Linked DNA regions of Homo sapiens: regions 1, 2, 4 and 5 are each linked to region 3. Evidence: promoter capture Hi-C in 16 types of primary human blood cells and fetal thymus (Javierre and others, 2016). All regions are on one chromosome and are shown on one strand. Each heading gives the region's core, a stretch centred on a gene start or on the middle of the fragment in contact. The rest is flanking DNA. Distances are from core to core; before and after follow the strand shown.

Region 1 (3,485 bases), core at 282-2,781, 460 kb before region 3:
GTTCATCAAATGAGCTTCCTGGAGAATGTGAGCTTTCAGCCAACTGCTGAGGAAAGCAGTGGCTGGAAACAGAAGACATTCCACATGTGGCCAGTGCATGTTGATGGCACTGAAACCGAGATGAGCAAGTAATTCCTGGCCATGGCAGCAACCAGATCAGCTTTGCAGGAGGGACACAGATGGATAAAAGAACTGAAAACCAGCAATGGGAGTGATCAGTCATCACTGGATTTATTTCTATGGAGTTTGTTTAAAGGCTATTTTCCAATCAATGAGAACTTATTCTTCACTATTTCCTCCATATAAGCAAGGACTACAGGCTTTATTGGTTGGGACTCACAGGATTTAAAGTGTAGAGGGGCCAGGCACGGTGGATCATGCCTGTAATCCCAACACTTTGGGAGGCCAAGGCAGGCAGATCACCTGAGGTCAGGAGTTCGAGACCAGCCTGGCCAACATGGTGAAACCCTGTCCCTACAAAAAAAAAAAAAAAAAAAAAAAAAAATGTATATATATATATATACACACACACACACACAAAAAAAAAATAGCCTGGTGTGGTGTTATGTGCCTGTAATCCCAACTACTCAGGAGGCTGAGGCAGGAGAATAGCTGGAACCCAGGAGGCGGAAGTTGTAGTGAGCTGAGATCGTGCCACTGCACTCCAGGCTGGACAACAGAGCACGACTCTGTCTCAAAAAATAAATAAATAAAGTGTAGAAGTATTTATCTCTAAGGTATGTACATGGGCATTACAAGTGGAGTTTTGTAAGTACACATCTTAAAGATCAAAAATGTCTTTGAGATAGGTACCTTTGGGGAAGAAAAATAAATGTCTTTGAGAGAGAGAGTTATTCCAACTGGCTTCCAACAGTAGGGTTCTGGTATCTGGCAGGTCTTTGTTGCATGGTGCTCAGCAGGGTTGGAGGGAAGAGAATGAGTGAGACTTTACATGCTCTGTACAATGAAAAGAGCAAGCATGAGAGTGAGGAGCTTGTAGTCTAAAGATTGTTCCTGTTGGTGTAGAGAAGGGTTCTGGGGAGAAGTGAAATAATTACAGAAATAATGAAATTAAACTTTTTGTCCTGCTTTCAAATTTTCTGTGTCTAACAGCCCTGTTTCTAGAAATTGATCAAAACCATACACTGGCAAAACTAAAATTAGATATATGCACAAAGCTACTCATTGTAGCACTATTTGCAACAACAACAAACAACTGGGAATAATCTAAATGTCCTTGAATACGGGACTAGGTGAGTAAAACATGGGGCATCCAAACAGTGGAGGACTCCACAGCTGTCAAAGGGAGAGGAGGTCGGGGGAGAAAGGAAAAAAAGCGGGGGAGAGGATACGTTGTTAAGTGAAGAAAGCCAGATCTAGGACAGTGTGTATAGCATGCTCCAGCTACATATAAGAACTGAGTCTAGGCCGGGTGCAGTGGCTCACACCTATAATCCAAGCACTTTGGGAGGCCAAGGCAGGCGGATGACCTGAGGTCAGGAGTTCAAAACCAGCCTGGCCAATATGAAACCCCGTCTCTACTAAAAACACAAAAATTAGCTGGGCATTGTGGCGGGTGCCTGTAATCCCAGTCACTCAGGAGGCTGAGGCAGGAGAATCACGTGAACAGGGAGGTGGAGGTTGCAGTGAGCCGAGCTCATGCTATTGCACTCCAGCCTGGGCGACAAGAGAGAAACTCCGTCTCAAAAAAAAAAAAAAAAAAAAAAAGAACTGAGTCTACAAATTTGTTTATATTTCACACATTTGTATGATTATATTTCTATATTTTTAAAACAAAACTAAAGGATAATTATAAAACAAAAAATCATAACGCTCACCTCTCGGGGAGGGAGGAAATACGGTAGAGAAAAAAGAGACAGAAGGCTGGGCATGGTGGCTCATGCCTGTAATCCCAGCACTTTGGGAGGCCGAGGTGGGAGGATCACCTGAGGTCAGGAGTTCGAGACCAGCCTGAGCAACATGGTGAAACGGGCCTCTGCTAAAAATACCAGAATTAGCTAGGTGTGGTGGTGGGTGCCTATAATCCCAGCTACTCAGGAGGCTGAGGCAGAAGAATCACTTGAACCCAGGAGGTGGAGGTTGCAGTGAGCCAAGATTGCAGCACTGCACTCCAGCCTGGGTGACAGAGCAAGACTCTGTCAGAAAGAAAGACAAAAGAGAAAGAGAGAAAGAGAGAAAGAAAGAAAGGAAGAAAGAAAGAGAGAGAAAGGAAGGAAGGAAGGTAGACTTTGTGTGTGTGTGTGTGTGTGTGTGTGTGTGTGTGTGAGACAGTCTTACTCTATAGCCCAGGCTGGAGTGCAGTGGTGCAATATTGGCTCATTGCAGCCTGTACCTCCCTGGGCTCAAGTGATCCTCCCACCTCAGCCTCTCAAGTAGCTGGGACCACAGGCTCATGCCACGATGCCTGGCTAATTTTTGTATTCTTTATAGGGATGGGGTTTTGCCATAATGCCAGGCTGGTCTCAAACTCCTGGGCTTAAGCAATCCACCCACCTCGGGCTCCCAAAGTGCTGGGATGACAGGTGTGTGCCACCATGCCTGGCTACACTTCTTAAAATGTGCCTCATTGGGTAGATATAACTTTGGGATCATGTAATTATTTAAATAATTTATCATTAAATTATGAAAAAGCAATCCTCAAAATCAAAAAATAAAAGGAAACAAATGAACATGTATATCCAGTTGGTGGCATAACACCAAAGAGGAACCACTTTAAGTGATTTAAAACACAGTAATTTACGGGCATTCCCAATGGGATATACTGTAAGGATAAAAAGAACTGTGAAAAAATAATTTTAAAAATCGTAAAATTATTTCAGAGTTTGTGATGTTGGTATCGGAGATTGATGTATAACTTGGGACAAAGCAAATGAGTAATTATATGATGTTCATTCTCTCATACCCAGAGTCACTGAGACCAGATTCTTGGCATGGGAGGAAGGAAATAAATGATAGAAGAGGTTAACTGAAAATCCTGTAGTCATGAATTTCAGTATGGAGTACCAATATGAACAAATGCAGTATTTTATCTTCAAAACAAAACCAAAAATATTTCCTAGTTCCGTTTGATAAGAAGTCCTAGAAATAACAACAAAAAAGGTAGCAATGAGCACTCTAGTGCCCCAATTGTGACCTTAAATACTATTCCCACTAAAAGAAACAAGACTCTTTAGAAAGAACTAATTCTAGGGGCCAGACAAATACATGACCTTAGAACATCTTGTCATATCAGACAACGAAGGGGCTACCACAGACCACAGGATCATGTCAAAAGGGCTCAGGTGCCAACCTAAAGAGAGCCCCACTGGCAAGAGATGAAACAATTCAAGCATAAATATGAATAATAATAGCAAGAGCTTGAAATATTTCCAATATGTTTACTTTATGAGTTTGCAAAGGCAGTACAGCAAAATATAGCCTAATTGATCACTGTTGCAGGATACTAATGAGCCAGCTTATTATTT
Region 2 (3,668 bases), core at 1,131-3,630, 410 kb before region 3:
TACTTAAGAAATTAATGATACAACTGGATGTGGACCCAGGTGGGCGTGAAAGGCCTTGTCACAGAAGCTGACTTTGAAAGTGGGTAGGAGTCCCCCAGGAATTCAAGAACGACCTGGGCAATATAGTGAGACCTCATCTCTACAAAAAATTTAAAAAATTAGCCCAGTGTGGTGGTGTGCACCTGTAGTCCCAGCTATTCTGGAGGCTGAGGTTGGAGGATTGCTTGAGCCAGGAGGTGGAGGCTGCAGTGAGCCAATTCGAGGCCCTGTCTAAAAAAAGGGGGGAAGGGAGGGCAGTAAGAGCAAGATAATGTGAGAGGCCTGAGAAACAACAAAGGCCCAGGATTGAAAGAAGACAACTCTGTCAGCCTGGCAGGAATGGGAAACTCTAAACTTGAGTAAGGCATTTCACCTTGCTCTGTTCAGTGTATCTTGTTTACAAATTGGAAATCTTAGTTGAGTTAAAACACTGCAGTATTCTTCAAAGTGTTATCCCTGGCTACTTGCAATGAGTCACTTTGAATGCTTGTGGAAATGCTTGGGCCAGGCACAGTGGCTTATGCCTGTAATCCCAGCACTTTGGGAGGCACTGTTGGGAGGATCACTTGAGCCTAGGAGTTTGACGCTGTGATGAGCTATGATCAGGTGACTGCACTCCAGCCTGGGCAACACAGCAAGACTCTGTCTCCTAAAAGAAAAAAAAAAAAAAAGCTTGTAGATTCCTGATCTCTGATCTTTTCGTTCCATTATTTTTAGCTTTCTCTTAAATCACTCCAAATTTTGCGACTCCTGTTTTCAAATTTTTCATTTGTAGAGTAAATAGTGGCGAAATCTGTATTTACCTCAACCTGTTTATAAGCAATTTCTGAAATTATTTTATCAATTTGTTTTTTATCCCCTAATAAAACCATGCCATAGATCTTTTAGGGTATGAATTACAGTTTGTTCCCTAATTAAAAGTGAGGGGGGCCACTTTTTACTGGGCTCAGTTCTTGGCATTTTTTCTTTTCCCCCCCACCCCTGTTCCTGGCATTTTTGGAAATTATTATCTTGTATGTATTTTTCATGACATCTACCTCAAAGTCTGTATTAAATGGGCACTCAAGTATTTTTTCACTTGATTTTTAATCTGAGTAATGACTTAGATTGAAGTGAAGTCTGCGAAAACTGGTCTGTAACAATTGGCTTTGAATTTCAACTGGAAGCACATAATCAGGATTAATATCAAAGAAAATTGTCTTTTTTTTTTTTTTGAAACAGTCTTGCTCTATTGCCCATGCTGGAGTGCAGTGGCGGTTATAGCTCATAGCTCACTGCATCCTCAAACTCCTGGCCTCAAGCCATCCTCCCACTTTGGCCTCCCAAAATGTTGGGATTACAGGCATGAGCAACCTCACCCAGCTCAAAAATTTATTTTAGTGGACAAGTTATTTGCATATTAGTGTAGGAATGTTTATAAAGATTTGCTATAGTGTAATTGCCATATCTCTAAGCTCAATGAATAAAATAATAGTGTTTCCTTTTGTTTGCTACCAGATAGCCTTGCACAGTGCTTGGTACTCAAAAATAATTATTGAATGCATAATATAGTAAGATGTCCAACAAAAGTATTTATACAGCTTACTCCTATTATTCATGCTTGGTAAATACCTATGTGAGCCCCCTTTTTCTCTTTAAGTGGAAAGTGGCTGTTTGCCTCATCTGGCTGTAATTTTGTGAGGTGAAGCACTGCCTATATAATGACCCCATAAGATTATGATATTGTATTTTTACTATACCTTTTCTATGTTTAGATACACAAACACTTACCATTGTGTTACAGTTGCCACAGTATTCAGTACAGCAACATGCTGTACAGGTTTGTAGCCTAGGTTTGTGTCAGTATACTATGTGATGTTTGCACAAAGATGCATTTCTCAGAATGTATTCTCATTAAGCAGTGTATGACTGTATTCTAATAGTATGCAGTGTCTTTTGTAGTCATTACTTCTGTTCCAGTTTCACTGCCACTGCCCTACTTTAGGACTTTATTACCTTTTGTTTAGACTGTTCTAACATCATCCTAACTAGTTTTCCTGCTTCCAGTTTCTTTTTTGCCAATCTTTTCTACCCACTCGTGTGAGTAGAGTCTTTTGAAGCCCAACCCTGATCATGTGACTTTGATGTTCACATCCTTTCAGTAGTTTCCCCATCACCTGTTGAATAAAATGCAAAATTCATGACATGGCACTCGAGTCTCTTCATGATCTAACCCTACCTTAGGCTTGTCTCTCACCATTACTCCTAAGACAAGAAATAATTCTGCTTAGCTAGATTTCTGTGTCTCTTTATTTATGATTATTTTCATTTTTGTTGTTGTTGTTTTTGGAGACCAGAGTCTCACTTTGTCCCAGGCTGGAGTGCAGTGGTGTGAACACAGCTCACTGCAGCTTCCACTTCCCAGACTCAAGCATTCCTCCCACCTCAGCCCCTCGAGTGGCTGGGATTACAGGTGCACGATACCACACCTGGTTATTTTTGTACTTTTTGTAGAGATGGAGTTTCACCATGTTGCCCACGCATGGACTCAAACTCCTGAGCTCAGGCAGTCCACCTGCCTCAGCCTCCCAAAGTGCTGGGATTACAGGCATGAGCCACTGCCCCCGGCCATTATTTTTATCTATTAAAAGACCCTTCTTTCTATCTCTCTACCAATTTCTTTTCTTTTCTTTTCTTTTTGAAACGGAGTGTCACTCTGTCGCCCAGGCTGGAGTGCAGTGGTGCGATCTCAGCTCACTGCAAACTCCACCTCCCGGGTTCACGCACGTTCTCCTGCCTCAGCCTCCTGAGTAGCTGGGACTACAGGCGCCCACCACCATGCCCAGCTAATTTTTTGTATTTTTAGTGGAGATGGGGTTTCACCGTGTTAGCCAGGATGGTCTCGATTTCCTGACCTCGTGATCCGCCTGCCTCAGCCTCCCAAAGTGCTGGGATTACAGGCATGAGCCACCAGGCCCGGCCAGTTTCTTTTCTTATTTTTATTTTTAAATTTCTTTTCGAAACAGGGTCTGGCTGTGTCAACCAGGCTGGAGTGCAGTGGCGTAATCTTGGCTCACTGCAACCTCAACCTCCCAGGCTCAAGCGACTCTCCCACCTCAGCCTCCTGAGTAGCTGGGACTACAGACGCACACCACCATGCCCAGCTAATTTTTGAATTTTTTGTAGAGATGGCGTTTTGCTATGTTGCCTAGACTGGTCTTGAACTGCTAAGCTCAAGTACTCCACCTGCCTAGGCCTCCCAAAGTGCTGGAATTACAAGCGTTAGTCACTGTGCCCAGCCTCTCTCTACCAATTTCCACCTGTCCTTCAAGGCCCAGCTGCAGTGCTGCTTCAACTGTAAAGCCTTCCCTAGCTCCTCAGCTAGAGTTATATATTGTAACACCTAGCATAATGTTTCGTGTTTAGTGGAAACTATGGAATTGCCTTTTAAAAATTTATTTATTTATTTATTTTTTGAGCTGGGGTCTCACTGTCACCCACGCTGGAGTGCAGTGGTGTGATCTTGGCTCTCTGCAACCTCCGCCTCTCAGGCTCAAGCGATCCTCCCACCTCAGCCTCCCGACTACCTGGGACCACAGGCACACACCACCACACCTGGCTATGCCATATTGTTTAGATTAGAATGGTCT
Region 3 (3,457 bases), core at 860-3,359:
TGGAGAAGATGGCCATCTACCAGCCAAGAAGACAAGCCCTCAGAAGAAACCAGTTCTGCTGACATCTTGATCTTTGACTTCTAATCTCAAGAACTATGAGGAAATACATGTCTGTACTTCAAGCCATCCAGTCTGTGGTACTTTATTATAGCACCCCTAGCAAACTCTCACAGATGGTAACATACTACATTGGATAGTGTGAGACTTCATGAGTGCTCACTGATGTAAGTGAATAAATGGGGGGAAGGAAAAGCACTTCCTTACTTTGTAGTAGAATGGCAGCTAATCAATATAGAAGGAATAATGTAATTAGAAAATCACAGGCACACTGTCTCATGCCTGTAATCCCAGCACTTTGGGGAGGCAAAGGGAAGAGGATCCCCTGAGGTAAGGAGTTCAAGACCAGCCTGGGCAACATGGCAAGACTCCTGTCTCTATAAAAAAATTTTTTTTGGATGGAATCTTGCTCTGTCACCCAGGCTGGAGGGCAGGCTTGGCTCACTGAAAACTGCACCTCCCGGGTTCAAGAGATTCTCCTGCCTCAGCCTCTCAAAGTGCTGGAATTACAGGCATGAGCCACCGCGCCCAGCCTCTTTCTCTCTAAAAAAAGGCCTGGCCAGGCGCGATGGCTCATGCCTGTAATCCCAGCACTTTGGGAGGCTGACGCAGGCGGATCACCTGAGGTCGGGAGTTCGAGACCAGCCTTACCAACATGAAGAAACCCCATCTCTACTAAAAATACAAGATTAGCAGGGTGTGGTGGCGCATGCATGTAATCCCAGCTACTCAGGAGGCTTAGGCAGGAGAATTGCTTGAACCCAGGAGGCGAAAGTTGTGGTGAGCTGAGATTGTGCCATTGCACTCCAGCCTGGGCAACAAGAATGAAACCGTGTCTCAAATTAAAAAAAAAAAAAGCCTGTTCTCACCGGGTGCGGTGGCTGACATGTGTAATCCCAGCACTTTGGGAGTCCCACGCGGGCGGATCACCTGCGATCAGGAGTTCAAGACCAGCCTGGCCAACATGGTGAAACGCCGTCTCTACTAAAAAATACAAAAAATAGCCAGACGTGGTGGCGCATGCCTGTAATTCCAGCTACTCAGGAGGCTGAAGCAGGGAGAGTTTCTTGAACCAGGGAGGTGGAGGTTGCAGTGAGCTGAGATCTCGCCACTACACTCCAGTCTTGGTGACACAGTGAGACTCCATCTCCGGAAAAAAAAAAAAAAAAAAAAAGGCCGAGCGCAGTGGCTCATGCCTGTAATCCCAGCACTTTGAGAGGCCGAAGCGGGTGGATCACCTGAGGTCAGGAGTTCGAAACCAGCCTGACCAATATGGTGAAACCCCGTCTCTACTAAAATTACAAAAATTAGCTGGGCACGGTGGCAGGCGCCTGTAATCCCAGCTGCTCTGGAGGCTGAGGCTGGAGAATCGCTTGAACCCGGGAGGCAGAGGTTGCAGTGAGCCGAGATTGCGCCACTACACTCCAGCCTGGGCAACAGAGAGAGACTCGGTTTCAAAAAAAAAAAAAAATCTATTCTCTTAATAAATGTCAAAGTCATAACGACAAAGCAAGACTGGAGGAACTACTTCAGATTAAAGCAAACTAAAGAGAGACACAACTAAATGCAACGTGCAGTCCTGGATTGGACAATTGGCAAAAAGGGAACATGGAGGGTGGATTAAATCGTACTGTATCAAAGTTAAACTTCCTTGTGGTAATTGTAGTTATGTAAGAAAATAAGACTGTCATCGCACATCTAGTCTACCAATCAATAGCCCCTAGTCCCAAGGCCGCCTCGCCTCCCTGGCTATTTAGTGATGAGTCAGATGATACCTCCCAGCGCTTCGCCCTCGCCCCCTGACATCCTCCCTATCCCTGCTTTAGGGGCTTTTCCTCTCTTACTGTGCCATACCCTCCACCGTCTCCCCTCCTGTCTCCTGGGCTCTACTCCTCCCTGCCCTCCTCTGCGTCCTGGCCCTCCCGCTCTCTTCCGCTTTGCGCTCCCAGGCTCCTTCCACCTCCTGCCAGCTCCCTTCCTCCTCCAGGTGCGCACCCCCTACCATTAGCCCCGCTGCGCGCTTGCGCTCTACGCCCAAGGGAGCCGGGCTGCAGAGCTGGAGAAACTTCCGCGGCTACGGGTGCAGTTGCCTTCGGTTCCCGGTTCCGGGCCGACACCCGCGCAGGGCTGAGACAGGTGTCTGCGCTCCCCGCAATGGGCTGCTCCAGCAGCGCCCTCAACAAGGCCGGCGACAGCAGCAGGTTCCCCAGCGGTGAGCAGGGTACCGGCGCCGCCCGCGCCCGGGCTGGGGACTCGGGTGGGCTAACTCCCCAGGAGGTCCAAAGGGTGTGTCCCGTGGCCACCCCGCCTGGCAGGAGCCGGGCCTTGTCCCGGAGGATGCGAGCAGAACCCGGGACAAAGCGCGATTTCCTTCCAAATCTGGAGCGGCGCTGCTGTGACCGCGGGTGCGGCGGCCCTGGTGCGCTCCGCGGCGCTCGCTGCGAGACGCGCGGGGCCCGAGGCCGGGCGCTGGATTCACCCTGTCCGCTGATGGGATCTCGGGGAGTTGGTGTTGAGGCCCTAAGGCGGTTAGCCTCGGCATTGCCTTAAACACAGGAGAAATGTCCTATCAAGGCCTTCTACCAAGGCTGGGGGCGGTGGCTGACGACTGCAATCTCAGCACTTTGGGAGGCTGAGGCGGGACGATCTCTTGAGACCAGAAGTTCGAGAAAAACCTGGGTAACAAAGCGAGATCTTCCGCTCCCCCGTCTCTACTAAAACACCAACAAAAAAGACTTTTCCCCATTTACCCTCCCATTAGCGTTTCAGCATCAAAGATGGCAAAAGATGCGGAGAATCCAGAGGAGCATTCACTCCATCAAATGGGTCCCTGCACTCTGAATAGGTCAGACACACTTTCCCCTATCTTCGGCTTAAGTATCAGTTGAGAAGTATGTGTGATCAAAAGTGGTCATCACTGACTCTTGCTGAAGAAACTCAACAAGGACATTTTGAGCATCTGCTATATAATACCCCAGTGCTTGGCTAGATGCTGGAGATACAAGTGACCCTGTTTGTAGAGATTGAAGATAGAAGAGACAGAAAAGAAACACGTGAAACAATTGGCTAAGATCGTTTCTGACAGTGATAAGTACTGTGAAAAGTATAAACGCAGTTACATGAATTAGAGAATGACAGGGTTTTACAGCCGACTCACTTTTCTTAGATTTTGAATGGCTAAAATTTTGGACAATGCTATGGAGGTTAAGCAAACTCCGTCAAGCTAGTTTACAGTCTTCTGCAAGGCGAACTTTAGCGGGGATTTTGTACTGGAGTGAATTCCTTTTCACAGATTTTCTCTTAGCACCTTGTGTTATTGCAGTAACAGAAATGTCTTCCTCTGATGTTGTTGGTAGAGCGCACCAGACGGTGAGGAATGCTTTTCAAAGCTCAGCCGCTG
Region 4 (3,690 bases), core at 930-3,429, 480 kb before region 3:
ATTTTTAGGGCCACTTTATTACGTTGCATGTTATCATGAAAATTTATATTGGGCAGATACTGACTTCCTTCCCTCATGACTCTTTTCAATTTCTTACAAGTGGAGTCAATATTTTTGTCATTTATCTCACTTTTGAAAAAATAAATGTCTGAACATTTCTTTCATGAATGCATTTTACACTCAGCAATTTTTTTAAATCACGTTCTTTAAGTAATCTTCATAGATAATTATAACAGATATTTGGAGCCTCATCTTTTCAAACCTCCTCTAAGATTGGATTCTAGAATTGGAAAGTTGTAGCACATCACAAGAAGTCAATGACAACACATTTCCCAATGTGTGTCTGAGTGAAAGAGAGAGAGAGAAAGAGACAGAGAACATGTGTGTCTGATGTTTCCCTGTGATTAAATCCAGGTTCTGTGTCATCTTTATCAGGAATATCATGGAAGTGATGCTGAGTTCTTCTCGATGCATTCCATCAGAATCTATTATTGGTGATGTTAACTTCTATCACTTGATTAAGGTGGTATCTACCAGACTTCTCCAGTGTAAATTTACACTTCTCCCCTCTGTAATTAATACATATTTTGTAGGGAGGTACTTTGAGAACATATAGACATCCTGTTCCTCACCAATCTTTCAAGTTAGTCATTTACTTATTTACGTCATATTGAATCATGGTTCTATTTTATTCAGTGGATTTTAATCCATTCCTATCAAGCTGGCTTCTGCATCCTTTGGCACAACAAGATATTTCAGGCTCATCCTGTGCTTCCCTACTCAAACCCTGTATCAGCCACTTCTCCAAGGGGTCCTGGATCCTTTTAGTGGAGAATGGTACTTAAAAATCAAGACCTCAGTGCTAGATTTGCTCATTGCTCTTGATGTGTACTACACTCAGGCCCTCAAAAGGAGCAAAGCTAGGGAGCATACATATGCACACGCATACACACACACACGTACACACACACACACACACATATCTATATTGATTCCCATATCTACCCATCTGTGTATACTGAAAACTATGAACTCACGGTAATATCTCCAATTCCAAACTCTAACAGTAGAGAGCTCATCAGTTTTCTCCCTTTCCATATTTTCACTTCCTTCTGTGACAGTGAGAAACTTTGCTCCTACTCTCCTCCATATCTTGACATATTGGAGCACTACTATATGTAATATCCCACCTTGTAGGCCCTGACACCCCCCTGCCAGGTTGCCCTCCCCTAGGCAGGCCCCTCTCACCCTATTCGGACTCCCACACCCAGCACCAGGCTGCTGATTCCCCTCATCTAAAGCCCTCCTCACCCCACCTGGCCTCTGATGCCACATGCTGGGCTACCATAGGAATGTGCATCCCACCTTGCTTGGTATCTGACACCCGTGCCAGGCCCCCATCAGCCCCTCGTGTGCATGCCTTTCTCACTCTGCATGGCTCCAACACCCCGCCCTGGTCTTCCTCCCTGCATGCCTCCGCACCTGAACTTGTTCAGACACTGATACCCTACCTTTTGTCACTGACCTGCCCAACCCCATCTAATAATGGCTTTTGAAATGGATTGTTCTGGAAGGAAACAGAAGGGAAAACAGATAAGAAAAAAGAATAGGACAACATTCTTCTTTAAATGCTAACTATGATTTCAAAGCTGTTTTTGAAAAATATTCTGTAAAAAGTGGTATGTCCCTTTTAAGTAAAGCTGTTTATAAAAGTTGTGTATTATTTAGGGACAACTCAAACAAACGAAATGCTATCATTTAAATTTAGGAACATGGAAGCAATATATAAGAAACTCAAGATGCAATAGTGGCTGAGAACAGAAATGTTTCCCTTTTTAGGTTATGTAGAAATTGGATTCTTTTTGTTCAGGAGAAAGGAGGTTTTGTTGTCATCAGAGTGAATGTGGGGTTGATCATCTGCAGTCTCTCTTTCTGCTTTGAAGAGAATACAGGGGAATCAGGGAAGGTGGCAGCCTCCCAAGACAGTAAGGAGGCTAGGAGGATACACTTAGGTTTACCTTTTATTAGCTTGGCTAATGCCACATGCAAATGAGGCATCCAGGCAGCTGGGAGAAGTGGAGGTGCCCAAAACTGGCCTGAAGTCCCAAAGTGTGTTCCTTCTTCAGGAGAGTCCTGACTCCAAGATAAGACTTTGAAGTGAATTATAAAGATTAGGACTGGTAGGCTGCGTGTGGTGGCTCATGCCTGTAATCCCAGAGCTTTGGGAAGTCAACACAGACAGACCACCTGAGCTCAAGAGTTCAACACCGGTCTGGGCAACATAGCAATACTCCGTCTCTACAAAAAATACAAAAATTAGCCAGGCACGGTGGTATGCACCTGTAGTCCCAGCTACTCAGGAGGCTGAGATGGGAGGATGGCTTGAACCCTGGAGGCAGAGGTTGCAGTGAGCCGAGATTGTACCATTGCACTCCAGCCTGGGTGACAGAGCGAGACCCTGTATCAAAAAATAAATAAATAAATAAAGAGTAGGACTAGCTATTTTATCAGGGTTACTTTACATCAGAACTGATAAAATATTAAAGACTGAATCCAACTATTAGGAAAGTTACCAAATTATACTATGGTGTTTCTTTTTTTTATGCTAGATATACGTTTAAATTTCTGCTTTCAGCCATGATAGACTAGATTACACCCAACCAACTCTTCTACCAGGAACAACTAGAAAAGTTGGATAAAATACAAAAGTCATTTGTTTAAAAGCATCAGAAAACTACAAAAATAGCCAGGAATTAAGAGCTCAAGATCCTGACTTTGAGTTCCCCCTGAAGCAGATCCCCAGGGAAGGATTTGAACATAAGGAGGTGATGTCAGGAAGCATTATTAGGGAAGTGAGGAAGAGAAACAAGAAAGATAAGACAGCCAAAAAAAGCTGGTTCTTAAACAAACTGCCACTGTGAGTAACTGGAGCTTGAGTCCACTGGGGAAATCAAGGAGACCTTTTTCCTCAGAGTTATCCCACCCAAAGGGCAAGGGGATCTGCGGCATTTATGATCCAATTGCATTTTATTGGGTCTTCTTGACCATGATAGCAAAACTAGATAATGATACTGCAAAAAAGAAAAATTGTAGGCCATTCTCTCTTATGAACATAGATGCAAAAATCTGAAACAAAATATGAGCCAATCAAATATGGCTATATGCTATATATCCCATCGAGACTGGGCTTATTCCAAGAACACAAGACTGGCCAGGCAAGGTGGCTGACGCCTGTAATCCCAATAATTTGGGAGGCTGAGGTGGGTGGATCACTTGAGCCCAGGACTTCAAGACTAGCCTGGGCAAAATAGCGATACTCTGTCTCTACAAATAATACAAAAATCAGCCAGGCATGGTGGTACGTGCCTGTAGTCCCAGCTACTCAGGACACTAAGGTGGGAGGATGGTTTGAGCCTGGGAGGCAGAGGCTGCAGTGAGCCGAGATCGCACCACTGCACTCCAGCCTGGGCAACAAAGCGATACCCTGTCTCAAAAACTAAAATAAAATAAAATTTAATTTAAAAATATATTTTTAAAAAAACAAAAGTGGAGCAAAAGGCTAATTTATACTTAAAAATCAATCAATGTGATTTTACCATATGAATAAAATAAAGGAGAAAATTATATGATCATCTACATAAGATGGTATTTAATATTCAGTGTGGATATTTATTAAATATTTCTCTCTTC
Region 5 (3,830 bases), core at 1,209-3,708, 330 kb before region 3:
AACCAGCTTGACTTGTAACAGGATTAGAGGGGGAAAGGCTTGGGTGAAAATGACTGTTCTCAAGTGCCTCACCTGGCACAGGCCCTTTTTGGTACCAACTGAGGCTTGCAGTCCCAGGAAACATCTAGCCTGATCTCAGAAAGGTTTAATGGCAACTTCATTGCCACTCCTCCCTCAAGACATTTCATGATACCTTGGGAAATTGTTTTAATAAGTACACAGGGGCACAATGACTATGAATGTGAATGGTGCCCCAATTTGTATAGTGCACAACTCTACATGGCAGCCTTTCCCTGAGGAAGGGGGATAGATCACAAGATAGATGTCACTTCTAGACAGCTTTGCCCCACTCAGAAAAGCAGCAAGTGCCCTATAGGCACTTAGAGTGAGGGTTCCTCTGAGGTTTGTTGTGGGGCTGGAGACTCTTGACAGACACCAAAGGAGGTCTTATGGCAAACAGCTATTAGTAACGGGATAGTGAGATTACCAGAATTTTTTTTTTTTTTTTTTTTTTTTTGAGACGAAGTGTCGCTCTGTTGCTCAGGTGCTCAGGCTGGAGTGCAGTGACACGATCTCGGTTCACTGCAACCTCTGTCTCCCAGGTTCAAGTGACTCTCCTGCCTCAGCCTCCCGAGTAGCTGGGGTTACAGGTGCACGCCACCAGGCTTGGCTAATTTTTTGTATTTTTAGTAGAGACGGGGTTTCGCCATGTTGGCCAGTCTGGTCTCAAACTCCTGACCTCAAGTAATCCGGGTGCCTCTGCCTCCCAAAGCGTTGAGATTACAGGCATGAGCCACTGGGTCTGGCCCATTTTTTTTTTTAACAGACAGGAGCTTCCTCTGTCTACCAGGCTGGAGTGCAGTGGCACAATCACGGCTCACTGCAGCCTCAAACTCCTGGGCTCAAGCAATCCTCCTGCCTCAGCCTCCTGAGTAGCTGGGACTACAAGCACCCACCATCACACCTGGATAATCCTATCTTTTATAGAGACAGGGTCTTGCTTTGTTGCCCAGGCCGGTCCCAAACTTCTGGGCTCAAGCAATCCGCCCACCTCAGCCTCAAACTGCTGAGATTAACAGGCATAAGCCACTGTGCGCAGCCTGAATTTTTTAAAAACACCTCAAAGATCATGAAAATAAATAATTTAGGCCAGGAGCGGTGGCTCACACCTGCAATCCTAGCACTTTGGGAGATCAAGGCAGGAGGATCACCTGAGGTCAGGAGTTCAAGACCAGCCTGGCCAACATGGTGTAACTCCATCTCTACTAAAATACAAAAATTAGCTGGGCATGGTGGTGGGTGCCTGTAATCCCAGCTACTCGGGAGGCTGAGACGGGAGAATCGTTTGAACCTGGGAGACAGTGGTTGCAGTGAGCCAAGATGGTGCCACTGCACTCCAGCCTGGGTGGCTGAGCGAGACTTCGTCTCAAAAATAAATAAACAATCTGAGAAAGATCAAGTAAGGAAAAAATAGTGGGCAGTGGTGGGAAGGAGCAGAGGGCTAGACTTAGGAATAAAATAGTGGAATAAAATATAAAACAGCTTGCCTCAGTAAGTATTCTTTGTTCTAAAACCCAGAATCTGCTCTGGCAAGTTCAAGCTGAAAAGGAATCTAGCAGGACCAGAGATCCAGGCCCTTTCACCATCAAGAATAACACCTAAGACCAGGTGCGGTGACTCACTCCTGTAATCCCAGCACTTTGGGAGGCCGAGGCAGGTGGATCACCTGAGGTCAGGATTTCGAGACCAGCCTGGCCGACATGGCGAAACCCCATCTCTACTAAAAATATGAAAATTAGCCAGGTGTCTGGCATATGCCTGTTATCCCAGCTACTCAGGAGCTGAAGCGGGAGAATCACTTGAACCCAGGAGGTGGAGGTCGCAGTGAGCCGAGATCACGCCACTGCACTCCAGCCTGGGCGACAGAGCGAGACTCTGTCTCAAAAAGAAAAAAAAGGAAAGAAAAGATGGGGCCGGGCGCGGTGGCTTACGCCTGTAATCCCAGCACTTTGGGAGGCCGAGGCAGGCAAATCACGAGGTCAGGAGTTCGAGACCAGCCTGGCCAACATGAAACTACCCCTCTACTAAAAATACAAAAAATTAGCTGGGCATAGTGGCAGGCGCCTGTAACCCCAGCTACTCGGGAGGCTGAGGCAGGAGAATCGCTTGAACCTGGGAGGCAGAGGTTGCAGTGAGCCTAAATCTCACCATTACACTCCAGCCTGGGCAACAGAGTGAGACTCTACCTCAAAAAAAAAAAAAAAAAAAAAGAAAAGAAAAGAAAAGAAAAAGAAAAAATGGGCCAGGTGCGGTAGCTCACGCCTGTAATCACAGCACTTTGGGAGGCCAAGGCAGCCAGATCACGAGGTCGGCAGTTTGAGACCAGCCTGGGCAACATGCAAAACCCTGTCTCTACAAAAAATAAAAACATTAGCCAGACGTGGTGGGGTGTGCCTGCAGTCCCAGCCACTCAGGAGGCTGAGGCACGAGAATCACTTGAACCCAGGAGGCGGAGGTTGCGGTGAGCCGAGATCACGCCACTGCATTCCAGCCTGGGTGACAGAGCAAGACTGTCTCAAAAAAAAAAAAAAAAAAGGAAAAGAAAAGATGGCCATATTTAACTGTATACAATTTTTTAATTATTATTATTATTATTTGAGAAGAAGTCTCGCTCTGTCGCCCAGGTTGCAGTGCAGTGGCGCAACCTCGGCTCACTGCAACTTCCACCTCCTGGGTTCAAGGGATTCTCCTGCCTCAGCCTCCTGAGTAGCTGAGATTACAGGTGCCAGCCACCAACACCTGACTAATTCTTGTATTTTAGTAGAGATGGGGTTTCACCATGTTGGCCAGGCTGGTCTCAAACTGCTGGCCTCATGTGATCCACTCACCTTGACCTCCCAAAGTGCTGGGATAATAGGCGTGAGCCACCATGCTTGGCAATTTTTTTTTTTTTTTTTTTGGAGACAGAGTCTCACTCTATCTCCCAGGCTGGAGTGCAGTGGCACGATCTCAGCTTACTGCAACCTCTGCCTCCCGGGTTCAAGCAATTCTCCTGCCTCAGCCTCCTGAGTAGCTGGAATTACAGGCGTGCACTACCACACCCAGCTAATTTTTGTATTTTTAGTAGAGACGGGGTTTCACCATGTTGGTCAGACTGGTCTCGGACACCTGACCTCATGATTTGCCCTCCTCAGCCTCCCAAAGTGCTGGGATTAAGATGTGAGCCACCACGCCCGGCCATGCCCAGCAATTTTTTATAAACTTTTAAAATGTTTTATTTTGAAAACATTAGAGGCCAGGCACTCCATTGCTCTCCAGCCTGGGTGACAGACTAAGACTCTGTCTCAAAAAATAAGTAAGTAAATAACATAAAATAAAATAAATAAAATAGAATGTGCAACACCTTTGATAGATTACAAGCTAATACTTTCTAGAATACATAAAGATAACTGACAAAGGGGAAACAACACAAGAGAAAAATAAGCAGATGAGAATAAGCAGTCCAAGAATAAACAATACAAAATGTTCATCAAACATATTTTTAAATGTTTAAACTTACTAGTACCAAGAAAATACAAATTAAAGTTAGAATGAGCCAGCTACCACTTCATGCCCATCAGACTGGCCAGAGTTTCTAAAAAAAAAAGCTGTAACTCCAGCTGCTAATAGGCATACAGAGAAAGTGTATTCATTCACTGCAAGTGGCAGGATAAATTACTACAATCCTTTGGGAGTGCAATCAGCTACCCTTTTTTTTTTTTTTTTTTTTTTTTTTTTTTTTGTTAAGATGGAGTCTCGCCTGTCGCCCAGGCTGGAGTACAATTGCAAGA

Evidence for each region. The method cuts DNA at HindIII sites, captures the fragments that hold promoters and counts their contacts. A CHiCAGO score of 5 or more calls a contact.
Region 1: a fragment that was not itself captured here is called in contact with the fragment with the promoter of ERICH5 in region 3 in 5 of 17 cell types (naive CD8 T cells, activated CD4 T cells, total CD4 T cells and 2 more); the score reaches 7.8 in naive CD8 T cells.
Region 2: a fragment that was not itself captured here is called in contact with the fragment with the promoter of ERICH5 in region 3 in 3 of 17 cell types (total CD4 T cells, naive CD4 T cells and total CD8 T cells); the score reaches 6.6 in total CD4 T cells.
Region 4: a fragment that was not itself captured here is called in contact with the fragment with the promoter of ERICH5 in region 3 in 1 of 17 cell types (non-activated CD4 T cells); the score reaches 5.1 in non-activated CD4 T cells.
Region 5: a fragment that was not itself captured here is called in contact with the fragment with the promoter of ERICH5 in region 3 in 6 of 17 cell types (naive CD8 T cells, naive CD4 T cells, fetal thymus and 3 more); the score reaches 6.9 in naive CD8 T cells.

Annotation. Positions count from the first base shown.
Region 1 is chr8:97,600,256-97,603,740 of GRCh38, forward strand. No RefSeq gene overlaps it. Among named protein-coding and RNA genes, the nearest start is that of MTDH, 42 kb to the right of the region's middle. The HindIII fragment of the contact is 4,447 bases long and covers 1-3,485 here.
Region 2 is chr8:97,647,256-97,650,923 of GRCh38, forward strand. All of the region lies in intron 1 of MTDH (metadherin), which reads left to right. Among named protein-coding and RNA genes, the nearest start is that of MTDH, 4.9 kb to the left of the region's middle. The HindIII fragment of the contact is 3,343 bases long and covers 710-3,668 here.
Region 3 is chr8:98,062,459-98,065,915 of GRCh38, forward strand. ERICH5 (glutamate rich 5) reads left to right here and starts at 2,110. Exons shown (of 3, transcript NM_173549.3): 1 at 2,110-2,269. The coding sequence starts at 2,212. RefSeq lists a silencer at 2,151-2,250 and an enhancer at 2,491-2,550. The HindIII fragment of the contact is 8,700 bases long and covers 1-3,457 here.
Region 4 is chr8:97,577,814-97,581,503 of GRCh38, forward strand. No RefSeq gene overlaps it. Among named protein-coding and RNA genes, the nearest start is that of MTDH, 65 kb to the right of the region's middle. The HindIII fragment of the contact is 4,555 bases long and covers 1-3,690 here.
Region 5 is chr8:97,730,319-97,734,148 of GRCh38, forward strand. No RefSeq gene overlaps it. Among named protein-coding and RNA genes, the nearest start is that of LAPTM4B, 44 kb to the right of the region's middle. The HindIII fragment of the contact is 5,398 bases long and covers 1-3,830 here.